Linked DNA regions of Homo sapiens: region 2 is linked to region 1. Evidence: promoter capture Hi-C in 16 types of primary human blood cells and fetal thymus (Javierre and others, 2016). All regions are on one chromosome and are shown on one strand. The core of a region is centred on a gene start or on the middle of the fragment in contact, and the rest is flanking DNA. Distances in the headings are between cores, read along the strand shown. Region 1 holds the start of SATB1-AS1 (SATB1 antisense RNA 1). Region 2 has its middle 330 kb from the start of KCNH8.

Region 1 (6,685 bases), core at 2,232-4,731:
ATTTACAATCCACAACCTGTCATATGAAAAAGAACTAAAAATTCTCCTCCAGATATTTTAGTCTTTACTAAGTTAATGTAGTATTTCTTTACCATCACTCAGCATATCATGTCTTATTTAATCACAGGTTCATATAGCTGGCAACAGATTTCTTTGCAGAAATAAACCAATATTCATTTTGTTGTCGTTCTTAAGATGCTGGGAGACAAAAGAACTACTTTTGTAGATTATCAACCAAAGAATATATTAATTTCTTACAAATCTGAACAAAAAACATTCCTTTTGAATACTTTTACATACAAAGAACTATTATTTATTACATATTTCAGCTTGTGGGAAAGTGAGGAATGCATTGATTCTGGAAATAACTATTCAGACTTTTGGAAGTTATTTAGGTCTTCTTTCTCTATCTTCCCCCCGCCCCCCATCCTGCCCTCCCACCAAATTTTAAGGAGGTAGTACTTTAGGAGGGAAATCCCTATTCGTTATTTTTTCATATATTATTTATATTCATTATTCAGAAATAAATACAAAATTGAATTGTAATTTTATTTCTCTTGTATAATGTTAGATGTAGCATTATCCAAATTTGACAATGCCTTGTATTTTATAGCTACTGTTTAAATATTATGTATTACCTATGACTGAACAACTCTACATTTAAAATATTGTTTTCATTAGAAAAAACTATGAAGTAGTAAGTGTCAAATGAAGATGAAGAATAAACATATTTGGTATATTTATAAAATGCATAGTCATTTAAAACGTGTACAAATAGAATACATAGTTTGCTACTGTTACATTTTATATAGTATACACATTGTCTACAGTGTATTTAATAATGTGCTTAACCAAGTTAATTAAAGTATTTATGTCTGATGATTGTGTAATAAACACTTGGAGAGGTAGTGAAAGATACAGCCAGTTACTTCTGCTAACTAAAGTTGAAATTATGCACTTATTATAACCTTTTCTAACAATGTGAGAAAAACAGAGTAAATATATTAAATTTGTTTCACAACAGATGCTTAGGTTGTTAATATTTAAGATGCCTATTCATGCTATTCCTGTCTGCACATTTGTCAAAAATGTAAGCTTGAATGCTAATGTTTGCCAGCAGACTGGAGCAGCCAGTATATGAATGTACTACTGTTCTAAGAAAATAATATGCAATAGAAATAGAGGACTACTGCTAAATCATAGCAGTAGTACCATACAGGAGATGAGAGGTTTTTAGAGCAAACACCTCAACCTTGGTTTTCTTCAGACTTAAAGTATGGGTTTTTGTTTTTGATTTTTGCAGCTACATTTGACCACAGAATAAATCTCACATTCCTGACATCTCAGAAAAATCCACTTTGGATAGAGTGTAAATTTCAACTAAGTTTCAACGGGATGAGTTACTCTGTCAGCAGTACAAACACCGTAAATTTCAGATTGCTTAGGACAAAACCTGACACCGAGCGGTAACATTTTACTCATTCTTACCCTACCCGCCACCCCCTTGAGAAAGTCAGGTCCCCTGGCCTCCAAGGATGCAAACATGGAAACCCAGTCAGTCAGAGCAGTAAGGTTCTCTCTGGGGAATAGGGCATCCTTCTGTTTTCCCTGTCTCTTTTATAACCATGTGGAGTCCAAGTCTTAGAACATTTGCTTGTAAGTCCGGAATGCCACTGAGAAAGTTCGCCAAGGAAGGGCGCAGAGGTCAAAGTTGCCAACCAGGACACTTTGAGAGAGGACCCTGTGGTTGACATTTGTTAGTGAAATTTGCAACACCTCAGTGGAGGCCAAGGCCAAAACTTTCAAGGAGATCCCTATGCCCCTTTCCCCTGTTGGTCTTCTGAGGTCATCCCAAGAGGAAACTGCGTTTCCCCAGTAAGCACGTGGCACTCCCCGGACCTGCCACCTGCCTGCTTCGTCCTTCTCGTCGTGGTTTCCCAAACCCCGGTTCTGCCGGCCCGGGAGCCTTAGCACTGGAGCAATAGGAAAAGGCCACCGCGCTCGGGTCTGGACAGCAGGAGGGAAACACGGTGTGGACTGCGAGGCTGCACCTGTGATGTCCCGGCCCCTGCTAAGAGGACGGCCCTTTCTTCTGCCTCTTGCCCAACTCCAAACCCACATTCACGCCAGCAGCCTCTCCAGGACCGGCCTCGCTACAGCCAGCGAGGGCTCGAAATGAGGAGTGCCGCGGCTTTCAAACTCCGGGCTCCAACTTGAGCGCCCCGGCGCCCGAGTAGCTCCCGGGATGCAGAAGTTGCCACAAACTTCCCAGGCCCCTCTTCGCCGATGCTTACAATCAGCCGCGCAGGCAGGGAGCGGAGGGAGGCGGAGATGGACCGGGAAAGGATGCTGAGCAGACTCGCGATCCGGTGGGGGAACATTACCACTCCCGCAGCCCACTCCTCCAGGCACCTTACTGCCCGCCCGGCTCCAGAACGCACCGAGAGGCTCCCCTTTTCCCCATTTGCTTCCTTCGGTCTTTTCCACTCCCCTTTCCTTTTCTAAAAGGGGCCATACCGGTGACCTGAAGGAGTTTGTTCAGCCAGGGTCTATTGGGCAGGTGTGGTGGTGTGTCCACACCCAGACAGAAAACGAATGGCATCTTCAAATCCCCCATCCCGACCGCTCTCCCCTACTCTACCAGCCCACCCCTCCAAGGTCCGTCTGCGTGAGAAAAGGGGCTCGGAAGACCGTTGAAGCCCTGCGCCCACGAGAGGGGAGCCCAGCCGCCCCAATAGGGGACGAGGAGTGGGTGCTACGGAGAAGTTTGGATTGATTCCGGAAAAAGAGGGACAGAGATAAAACAGCAAGAGTAGCAAGGGGAAAAGGGAGGCAAAAGAGCAGAACTCACTCAGGCATGGACGTTGGGGGCGGCGGTGGCTGTCGAGTGCGGGCCTGAAACCAAGAACGGCTCCCCGGGCGGGCGCGCCGGCGTCGGACTTCCGAGGCGGCGGCTTCTGCCTCTCCTGCCGCCGCCGCCGCCGCCGGAGCTGCGGCTGCCGCGGAAGTTAATTGCAACTTGACTTCAAGTTGTCCTCTTTCCCCATACGAAGTGGGCGTTTAAAGGGGAGAGCGAGGCGAGGAGCGAGCGAGCGAGCGCGCGGGGCCAAGGGAAGGAAGAGAAGGAGGGGGAGGGAGGAGATGTTAACGGGCGGGGGGGGGAGAAGGGGGAGGGGGCGGCGGCGGGGGCGGGAGGGGGAAGGGGCCGGCGGGAGCTGCTCTCGTCTCGTCGGTCGCGGCGCCTGCAGTCTGGAGGCGCACCGGAGCGGCCGGGGCGTCCCCCGCGGGAGCCCGCAGCCACCCGGGACGCGCATCCAGACGTGGCGCTTCGGACCGGGCACGCTGCGCCCGGGGGCTCGGCGGACCCCGCGTAGCCGCCGCTTCGGAGCTTGTGCGGCGCGGGCTGGCCAGCGGGGCGGCCAGGGCCCGGCCCGCCTCCCCAGCGCCCGCCCGGCTTCTCCCCCTGGCGGTGGGAGCCTCGGCGGCCGCTGGCGACACTAGGCGCACTGAAGCCCGAGCCGAGCCGAGCCCGAGCCGCCGCCGCCGCCGCCGCTGCTGCGCACCGCTCCCGGGCTCCCTCCCAGCGCGCCGGCCGGGGTGTGGGGGGCGGCGGGCCGGAGGGGCGAGGGCGGGCCAGGGGGCGCACACGGGGGTTGGCGCGGAAGACAGGACCCTCAGCCTCGAGGGGTAAGTGTGGGCGCTTGGGGGTGCGCTTGGGGTGCGCGGCGCGGTTCTCGTCGCCCGCCAACCCTGCCCCCTCACCTCTCCGGGGGCCCCCAACACGCGCACTCCTCCTCTTGTCGCCTGCGGCTTCCTCTTGTTGCTTGTTGTTTGGCTGGGTTTTGGGGGGTGAGTAGAGGGGGTTACTGTAGTGTGTGTGCAGGCGGAGGAGGAAGTCAGGTGAGAGGCCGCGAAGCACCCCCACCCCAACCCAGCCTGCGTGGGGTGTATGCTTCCCCACTAGGGGCATTTGGGCCATTTTTTTTTTCTCCGTCAATGTTCGGTCGAGACGATGTTTCCTAGAGGGCCTCCTTCACTTACAGTCTGGTCTGTCCATCTCCCTTCATCCCACCCTCGTCCGTCTTAGCCCCTTGTCCAGGAGCCCTGCACCCCAAGTGAGGAGCACGTGGCGGAAGGAGGAGGAGGCCCTCTCTTGAAGACCCCCACGCTGTGACCCAGCCCATTAGTTTAAATATTTATCCTCACATCACCAGCTGTACTTTTCAACCCACTGGAACAAGACGCCTAGGCAAGGTCCAATTTCCCCAAAAAGCTGGGGGCAAAGCGGGAGAGATGAGGGTTTTATTGACATTGGGAGAGAAGGGGCCAAGGAACCTTCCCAAGTGGAGACTGAAACTCAAAAAATCTCTACAAAAAGACTAGGGTGACTGGAGGCTCAGGACTGCAGGCTTAGGAGAAACTGGAGCTCCATCAACTTTATTTCTCTCCCCCTGCCTCTCCTCCCCCCAGCTCTGAGGAAGCTAACAGGTCTTTTGTTTTGTATTGTGTAGCCTTTGGGAAATTTGCATTGAGTATGTCAACAGAAAATTACTACTGTTTACTCAAAGGGATTGCAGAAAGATAAAACATAGTAACATAGTTTTTACTTTTCCTCTTCTTTGTACGCTTGTGTGTATTTGGCAAGAAGTGTAGTTAGGTTCATGGCATGAACTGCAAAACGTCAGGTTGTAACAATAAGGACTGTAGAGCTGCCTAGGTGTATTTTTAGAAGCCGCACTTTCTTGAATTCCTTTCACACAAGGCTTGCTCTCTCATTAAGTCCCCATAAATAATTTTATTTAGAGAGGAGGAAACTATGGAAGCAGGAGGGAGATTGCTAAGATTTCCATCCTGCCAGCGCACAGCACTGTTTGCAGGGAAGTTCCTGGAAAGTGATTGTGGGCTGAGAATTCAGTTTTTCCTAAAAGCTCTGTTAGGTCCTGTTGTGTCAGATGGCTATGAATAAAGCACGCTGGGAAAATCCTGATATCCGTGCAGTCTTATTTTATCTTTTACACAGTGGTTGATTCGACTTTCAAGCCCTGGTGACAAACACATCAACTCTGCTGTATTTTTGTGTGCTTTTTCTAAATAAAGGAGAATACAGCATGTATTCATGCTGCTTTTTTCCCCTCATCCATGGTTATTGAATTCACTGGAAGTTATTCATCTTTTTTCAGTTGATCATCATTTTATGCCGAGACCACAATTCCAAACATATAGGAATTTTTTAAAATTATGAATTAGGGTTCTTTTAGGGAACCAACCCTCCTTTTTAAAGATACAAGTGCCCACCACAACTCCTAGTTTTGTAAAGCAAAGCAAAAAGGTATAAATGATTATAATGAGCAAAACATAGTAAAACGTTTTCCTTCTTGGATCACTTTCTGTCCCCACAGGTCCCAGGAGACATTAAATCCTCCTGCCTTAATTTACCAAAATGCTGCATTTCCTAACCAGTAACAATATCTGTGTCTGAGAAAGACATCAGGTTTGGAATGGAAAAAAATACATTCTCGGTATTTAATTACTGCTTAACAGTAATTTATTGTAGCAGGCAGTTGATTTTCCAATTCTGAAAGCCTGAAATGAAGCTGAACAGAAATTTGAAATTTTTAAAAAAGGTTTTTTTTTCTTTCTTACACTCTTATATACTCATCTGCTTCCCCAAGTTATCAGCCAAGCCCCTATAACTGAAAGTATGATATGCTCCTCTGAGTTGAACCGAGACCATTTTGCCCCTCATTTTTTGAATTTGCTTTTTCCTCCCAATAGTCTTGTATAGAAAGCACATGGGCTCTGTTAGAATACAGAATTATGCAATTCTGGGTGCAGTGCATTAAATGACATAGTTTGATAAACTCTTAAGCCTTACAGCTCAGATGTTAATAAAATATTGTAGTTGGCCACAAATTTCATAGCACAAGGCTAAGATCATTTTTCAGAAGAAAGGGGCATTTAATCTGGATTATTTGGTTAGTTGCTATGGTCTGAATGTTAGTGTTCCCCCAATATTGGGGTTCATGTGTTAGAACCTAATATCAAAAGTGATGGTATTAAGAAGTAGGGCCTTTGGGAAGTGATTAAGTCATGAAGGCTTCAACCCTCATGAGTGACAGGAGTGCCTTTGTAAGACAGGCTGAATCTAGCTACCTTGCCCCTTCCACTGTGTGAGGACACAGCAACAAAAGTGCCATCTGTGAAGCAAGGAGTGAGCCTTCACCAGATACTGAATCTGCTGGTGCTGTAATCTTGGACTCCTCAGCTTCCAGAACTGTGAGCAATAAATTTCTGTTGCTTATAAATTACCCAGTCAAAGATAATTTGTTGTAGCACCTCAAATGAACTAACACAATAATACATTTGTGCTACTAGATTTTTTTAACAAGTCCAAATGTGACTTAAATGACTGAAAGACAAATCTGGAACATATCAAATGGCCAATAATAGTAGCTGGTATCAAAAGCTGCACTGGTTATTTCCTTAAAAGAATAGACAATAAAATATTGCCTACTAAATATTAGAAGAAAGATCAAGGGAAAGGATAAAACAGCATTGGCCTTGAAGGAAGTTATTTGCTGGAAAAAAGACATCAAAATGTGAAAAGACAATGGATCAGTTAGTGGTTTGAATCAAAGAAATACTTGAGGAAGAAAAAATATATATATATATGTACATATTTTTC
Region 2 (6,685 bases), core at 1,375-3,874, 370 kb after region 1:
TCCTGTCCTGTATGGGTGGTTCCTGGTATCCCCCAAACCATTACAATGGTAACATCAAACATGACTGATAACAGATAGAATAATAATTTAAAAGTTCAAAATATTGCAAGAAATACAAAAATGTGATACAGAGACATGAAGTGAGCTCGTGCTTTTGGAAAAATAGTGCCAATAAACTTGCTGGATGAAGGCTTGCCACAACTCTTTGAAGCAGCATGAAGCAAAACATAGTAAAATGAGTGAGGTATGCCCTCTATTTTATTGTGGTTTTGATTTGTATTTCCATAATGAATAATTATGTTGAGCATCTTTTCATGTGCCTATTATCATTCACAGATTTTTTTTCTGGAGAACATCTATTTGTATCTGTTGCCTATTTTAAAAATTGGGTTATTTGTTTTTTTATTGTTGAGTTGTAAGATTTCTTAATTTATTCTAGATATAATTCTCTTATTAGATACAAAATTTGCAAACATTTCTTCACACTCCATAAGGTATCTTTGCACTTTCTTGATGGTATCCTTTGGGGCACAAAAGTTTTTAATTTTGGCAAATTCCAATTTGTATATTTTTTCTTTTTTCACTATTGTTTTGGTGTTTTATTTTGCCTAACTCATGTTCATAAAAAATTATTTCTCTATTTTATTCTAAGAGTTGTATGGTTTTAGCTCTTAGAACCCATTCTGAGTTAATTTTTTGAGAAAAGGGTCCAACTTCATTCTTTTGAGTGTGACTATCCAGTTATCCAACACCATCTGTTGTAAAGATTATCATTTCCTCATTGAATTATCTTAGCACCCTTGTAAAAAATCAATTGACGGTAAATATTAGGGTTTATTTCTGGACTTTCAATTCTGCTCCATTACCTGACTCTATTTTAGATTTACACTGACATTGTTCCTGTGAAATTCTCTTTTCTTTTCTGTGCTATGATTGTTACACATATTATGTCCATATATGTTTTAAGCACAATACATTGTTATAATAGTGTTTTCTAAATAAATTCCAAAGAGAAATGAGAACAAGTATATATTAGAGGAGACTGTTATGTTAGCCTTCTTCTTTATCTTTTTCATCCCTTCATTTATTCCTGTGGATATTAGTTATAACCTGGTATTATTTTCTTACTCCAATATAACTATGCTCCTGCCCACCTCCTTTGTGCTGCTGTCATCAAGTATATTATACATGCTATGGGCCCAACAATACAATTATATACATATTGCTTTATGCTAGATCATTATCTTTACTACCATGCTTTGTTTTTTCATGTCTGAAGAAATTTCTTTAAAACTCCTTCTAAGACAGATTTGCTAGCAACAGATTCTCTCAGTTTTTGTTTATCTTGGAATGTATTTGTTTCACTTTCATTTTTTAAAGATAATTTTGCTGGAAATAAGATTCTTGGGGTTGGAAATTTTTTTAATTTTTAGTAAGTTTTTTCTTTTTTTGTTAAAGTTGTATTTTAGGTTCAGGGGTGCATGTGCAGACTTGTTATATAGGTAAACTCATCTCATGGGGGTTTGTTGTACAGATTATTTCATCACCCATGTACTACGGCTAGTATCCAATAATTAATTTTTCTGATCCTCTCCCTCCTCCCACCCTTCACTCTTATGTAAAACTCAGTGTCTGTTGTTGCCCTCTTTGTGTCCATGAGTTCTCATCATTTAGCTCCCACTTACAAGTAAGAACATGTGGTATCTGGTTTTATGTTCCTGCATTAGTTTCCTAAGGACAATGGCCTCCAGCTCCATCCATGTTCCCATGAAAGACATGATTTCACTCTTTTTTATGGCTGCACAGTATTCCATGGTGTAGACATGCCACATTTTCTTTATCCAATCTGCCATTGGTGGTCATTTAGGTTGATTTCATATCTTTGAACTTTTAGCATTTTAAATTGCCTTTTGACATCCATTGTTCCTGATGAGAAGTCAACTATTAATCTTCAGGTATCACTTTTACATGATGATCACTTTTATCTCTTACTCTTTTCAAAATTTTCTCCTTGTTTTTAATCTTTCAACATTTTAACTATGATGTATAGATACAGTTGTGGGTATACAGGTGTGGATTTCTTTACATTTTTCCTACTTAGAGTTTCTTGAACTTTGGGGTATGTGCAGATTAATGTTTTTCATCAAATTTAGGAAGATTTCAGCCTTTATTACTTCAAATTCTTTTGTTTGTACTTTCCCTCTCCCCTCTTGTAGTGGTATTCCCATTAAGCTTATGTTAGTGCACTTGAAAATGTCTGATATTTCTCTGGGACTCTGCTCATTTTTATTTATTCTTTTTTTCCTCTGTGTTCTTCAGATTGCATAATCTCTACTGATCTATCTTTAGGCTTTCTAATTCTCTTTTCTGCCAGCTCCAATCTATTGTCAATCCCCTCTAGTGATTTACAATTTTGCTTATTTTACTCTTCAACTACACAATTACCATTTGACTCATTTAAAAAATATAATAATTTTGTCTTTTTGTTGCTATGCTCTATTTGATACGACATTATGATCTCATCAAGATATGATGAGATATACCTTTCTTTTATGCTTTAAGCATAGTTTCCTTTAGTTCTTTAAACATGTTATAATGGCTACATTTTTGTCTTTTTAAAATCTGACATCTTGTTCCTTTCACAGGCAGCTTCTGTTTGCTGCTTTTTTTCTGTGTATGGGTCATGCTTTCCTATTTATTTGTATGTCTCATGAGTTTTTACTGGAAACTAGACATTTTAGATAATATATTGTAGATACTTTGGTTATTGACTTTCCTGCTCCAGGAGTTGTTACTGTGTTTGCTTGACCCTTTGTTTATTTGTTTAGTAACTTAGATGAACTAAATCTGTGAAGTCTATTTCCACAGTGTGCAGTCTTATTTACATGTTTCTCCTCAGAGGGTGCAGCCTTGGGCATGTGTATTGTCATGATCCTGTCCGCCACACCCGCACACCTTCAGTGGTGATCATGATTTTATCCTGGCTCTTTGATTGTCTCTTTGCCTGATTTTCCTGTTAAGCTTCTGGCTGGTCTGCCTGTATTGGTATCACACACAGCTCTTAGTGTCCATGAATTCCTAGCTTATTGCTCTATTGTTTTCAACAATGCCTGGGGCATAAGTTGCTCCATTGTCCAATCCAATTAACCATGGGTTTGCACAGATATTATTCGTGGCCTGTCTTTTAGACTTTCTCAGATCACTAGAGTGTTCTTCTTAGTTAACTATTTTCTTATTAAGCTTCTGGCTAGTCTCCACTTCACTTGTTGATATCATGAAGCTACTAGACTTCTTTTAATTTCTCATCACTAAAATCTCCACTGTTTTCAACAATGACCTAAGGTTTGAATTTCCCTATGCTCTAATCCAAATAAAGCTGGTCACTTTATGGAGAGCTATGGACCTCTCTGCTCTTACAGCCTGCCCTCCCCGTGGACAGAACGTCAGGATTATTGCTCCGGAGTTAAAAAATGGAAAGTGCCCAGCTTCTTTAAGGGTGACATCCCTACTCTATTAGGGGGTCATTGGTTCTAGGAGGTATCTCTGTTAGTGAGCTGAGGTAAGAGTAAAGAGGTCTCAGTACTCTTAAGTTGCACACATATTGGACAAAGCTCCACCATACAAGTGGGGACTGGGCAGAAAAAGGGAGCCCTAAAACTCCAGGCCACACTTGCCTTGAACACAGCTTCTGCCAGCTAAAGCTTGGAGAGAGGAAAAATACTGGTGTCCTGATGCTCCAGGGAAGAAGTCATGGCCCTAGACTGAGAGCTAAGAGGAGGCAGAGCCCTGTGATTTTGTTTAAAGCCACCAGGAGTAGAGCTTCCACCACACTCAACTGGAGTCAGGTGGGGCTGGGGCAGGGAGGAGATCTGGTCATGGTTCAGTGTCACAGACTTACTAGTTTTACCAAGATTTGGTAATTTTTTCTTGAATAAAATGTTTCTCCATTTTCTGCATGCCCTTAGCATAAAATTTCTAGAGACCTTAATTTTTTTCTTAAAAAACTTTGACCAGGTAGGTTGTTCCACTGAAGAGGGCATCTACACAGCTCCTCACATTGCCACTTCAATTTTGTAATAGATTTATGTTTAGCTTAGTATAAGTTCAATATTTTTCCAAAGTCTTGCTCAGAATGGAAATTTCGTATTCATTTAAATCTTAATGCAAATATGATGTATTCTTTTTCTTTCTATCTATACATGGTTAGAGTCAAGAATATGAAATCTTCAAAGATCATAAACAGATTGACCAATTAAAAATTGGGGGAATTTAGCCAGGTGTGGTGGTACATGCATGTAGACCCAATTACTCAGGGGGCTGAGGCAGGAGGATCACTTAAGCCCAAGAGTTTGAGGCTGTAGTGAGCTATGATATTGCCACTGCATTCCAGTCTGAGCAAGAGAATGAGACCACATCTCTGAAAAAAAAAAAACCTGGAAGGGAATATCCAGAGATATATAGAGGAAGAATATCATTATCCTCACAGAAATGATGTAATTTATAATGCCAAAGTAAACTACATAAAACTGAATTAATCTATGTTCCAGTCTAAAACTGAGATACACTTTAAAAATTAATCCCACATTTAATTTGAAATGCAATTTAAATTGGAAATGTGGAAAGAGGATATCGTTTGATATCATCATGTTTTTAAGTTCTTGTACCTTAATATCTATTTCTTTTATGTCGGTTAGGTTCTCAGTCTCTCTGGGACATTCTCTGAATGTCCTCCTTCTTACCCTTTATTTCTCCCCCACCACAAACACACACAACCCAATCGGCATTGGCTTTTGTCTTCTCCACTCTGGTTTTTTCCTATTTGTATCTGTTAATTTCTCTTCTGCCGCTAACCCTCTGTTTTCAATTTTCAGTGACTTACTGTTCTCTCTCTCAATTACTTTCATGATTCTCCACAAGAAACACTCAGAATCCAAGTTAGCAGACACAGATTTCTCGTTAACAGTGTTGTGGGAAAAAGATATTTTGAATACCTAGATGTTAAGTTTTTGTTTTCTATTCACTAGAAGAAAAGACTGCCAATACTAAAATCCTTCTGTATTAGTAAAAATGGCAATCATGGAATAATGAGCTGGTACCCTCCCACGGAATACTGCCAAAAAAATCTTTGCTTTAACCTTTCTCACTTATTCTCTTCTCAGCCATTTTGGAAAACTAAGACATCTTACCAGACACTTCAATAGTACATATTTTATAAAAATTAAATTAACTGACTAGCATATAAGTCACTTCTTTAGTAGCTGCTCAATAAATGTTAATTTTCTTTCTATTTTCTGCTTACTACTGGGCAATTCAGCCTGTGCATACAGAATGGGAAAGTGCCACACTCCCTTCTGTAGGCTTCTACTGGTTCCTTTTGATTTTCCTGAACATATGAAAATATGCCTAGAATGCTGGCAATGATTTTCTAGGATTAGCAGTTGAGAAAAGAATCTTCTGACAGTGGCTTAGGGTTATTCACTAACATATTTACTGTGCAGATGTACATTGGTAGATTTCAAGAAAGAACTGATGCAGTGTTCTACATTTGCATTAATTAACACAACACTGGCAAGTGGCACTGTGCAGCATGTAAAAAATATTTTAACTCACTATTGTTTACATTGACCTCTTAAAAATATAAAATGGAAATATTTTCCTTACCAAGATAGTTTTCCCTCTGCATTATGAGCATTCTGTTTTTTCATTGGAGGTTTTATCCTGCTTTCTGTCTCATAAAGTTAAAAATTAAACATAGAGAATGATAGATAATAGTTAGATCATAGGTAGATCATAGATAGATAGACAGACAAACTTATTTTGAAGTTCTGAAACACTATTTTTATATAAAATACTGGTATCTAAAATATAGTCTGGGCTGTAGAATTTCTGTTCCCCAAATGTACACAGAATAGTATCTATGAAGAAAGTTGGTCTAGACTCTACAGAGCTATAAAAACAACCCATTATATGCAGACCATCACCACTACCATTATCAATGCTACTGCCACTGGCATCACCACCACCACTACCCCGAACCCCTATCTCACACCAAGTAAGTTGCTGCATAAAGGTGACTCAAGGGAAGCCCTCTTGTCAAATGCATAGTCTGTATCTATCTAGCTCAGCTAAAATGGAGAAATGCCAATTATCTGGTTAAATTTGATCAGTGGAGGCAATCAAATATGTGTTATATACATGTCTGAAGGATCTTGCTTGGCTTTGATAGTTGACATATCTCTACTTCAATACAATATAATGTGCCATGAAATTTTCCCCTACATATCTTCCAAAATATTTCGAGAGAATACTGGAGAATTTATGAAAAGAAGTTTGGATTAAAATGGTATATTCTGTCCATATGTAGCTGGAAGGTGAAGGAGCTATCAGGGAAGAAAATTAGAATCTAGGATAGAAAGAATAAAAAAGGAAGGTGCTGTGAAAATCTTAAAAGATTGAGAAAACAAAGGATCATAAGAACAGAGTGGAAATCACAGAGGAAAAGGATCTGGCAGGTCATAGAAATAATCTCATCCATTGAGTCAAGCAACATCTTCAAATTTGCATATTACCTTAGAGTAGCAAAGAGGACCTGAAAGTGTGCAAGTAACTACCATGGAACAAAAATTCTTATTTTGTGATAACTTTGTGGGTTTGTGCTGTCTTGTCTTATGTCGACATGCATAGA

The links. The method cuts DNA at HindIII sites, captures the fragments that hold promoters and counts their contacts. A CHiCAGO score of 5 or more calls a contact.
Region 2: a fragment that was not itself captured here is called in contact with the fragment with the promoter of SATB1-AS1 in region 1 in 5 of 17 cell types (fetal thymus, activated CD4 T cells, total CD8 T cells and 2 more); the score reaches 8.3 in fetal thymus.

What each region holds. Positions count from the first base shown.
Region 1 is chr3:18,441,756-18,448,440 of GRCh38, forward strand. SATB1-AS1 (SATB1 antisense RNA 1) reads left to right here and starts at 3,482. Exons shown (of 7, transcript NR_125803.1): 1 at 3,482-3,687. It also overlaps a transcript of SATB1 not described here. RefSeq lists a silencer at 3,388-3,607. The HindIII fragment of the contact is 8,267 bases long and covers 1,094-6,685 here.
Region 2 is chr3:18,815,531-18,822,215 of GRCh38, forward strand. No RefSeq gene overlaps it. Among named protein-coding and RNA genes, the nearest start is that of KCNH8, 330 kb to the right of the region's middle. The HindIII fragment of the contact is 789 bases long and covers 2,231-3,019 here.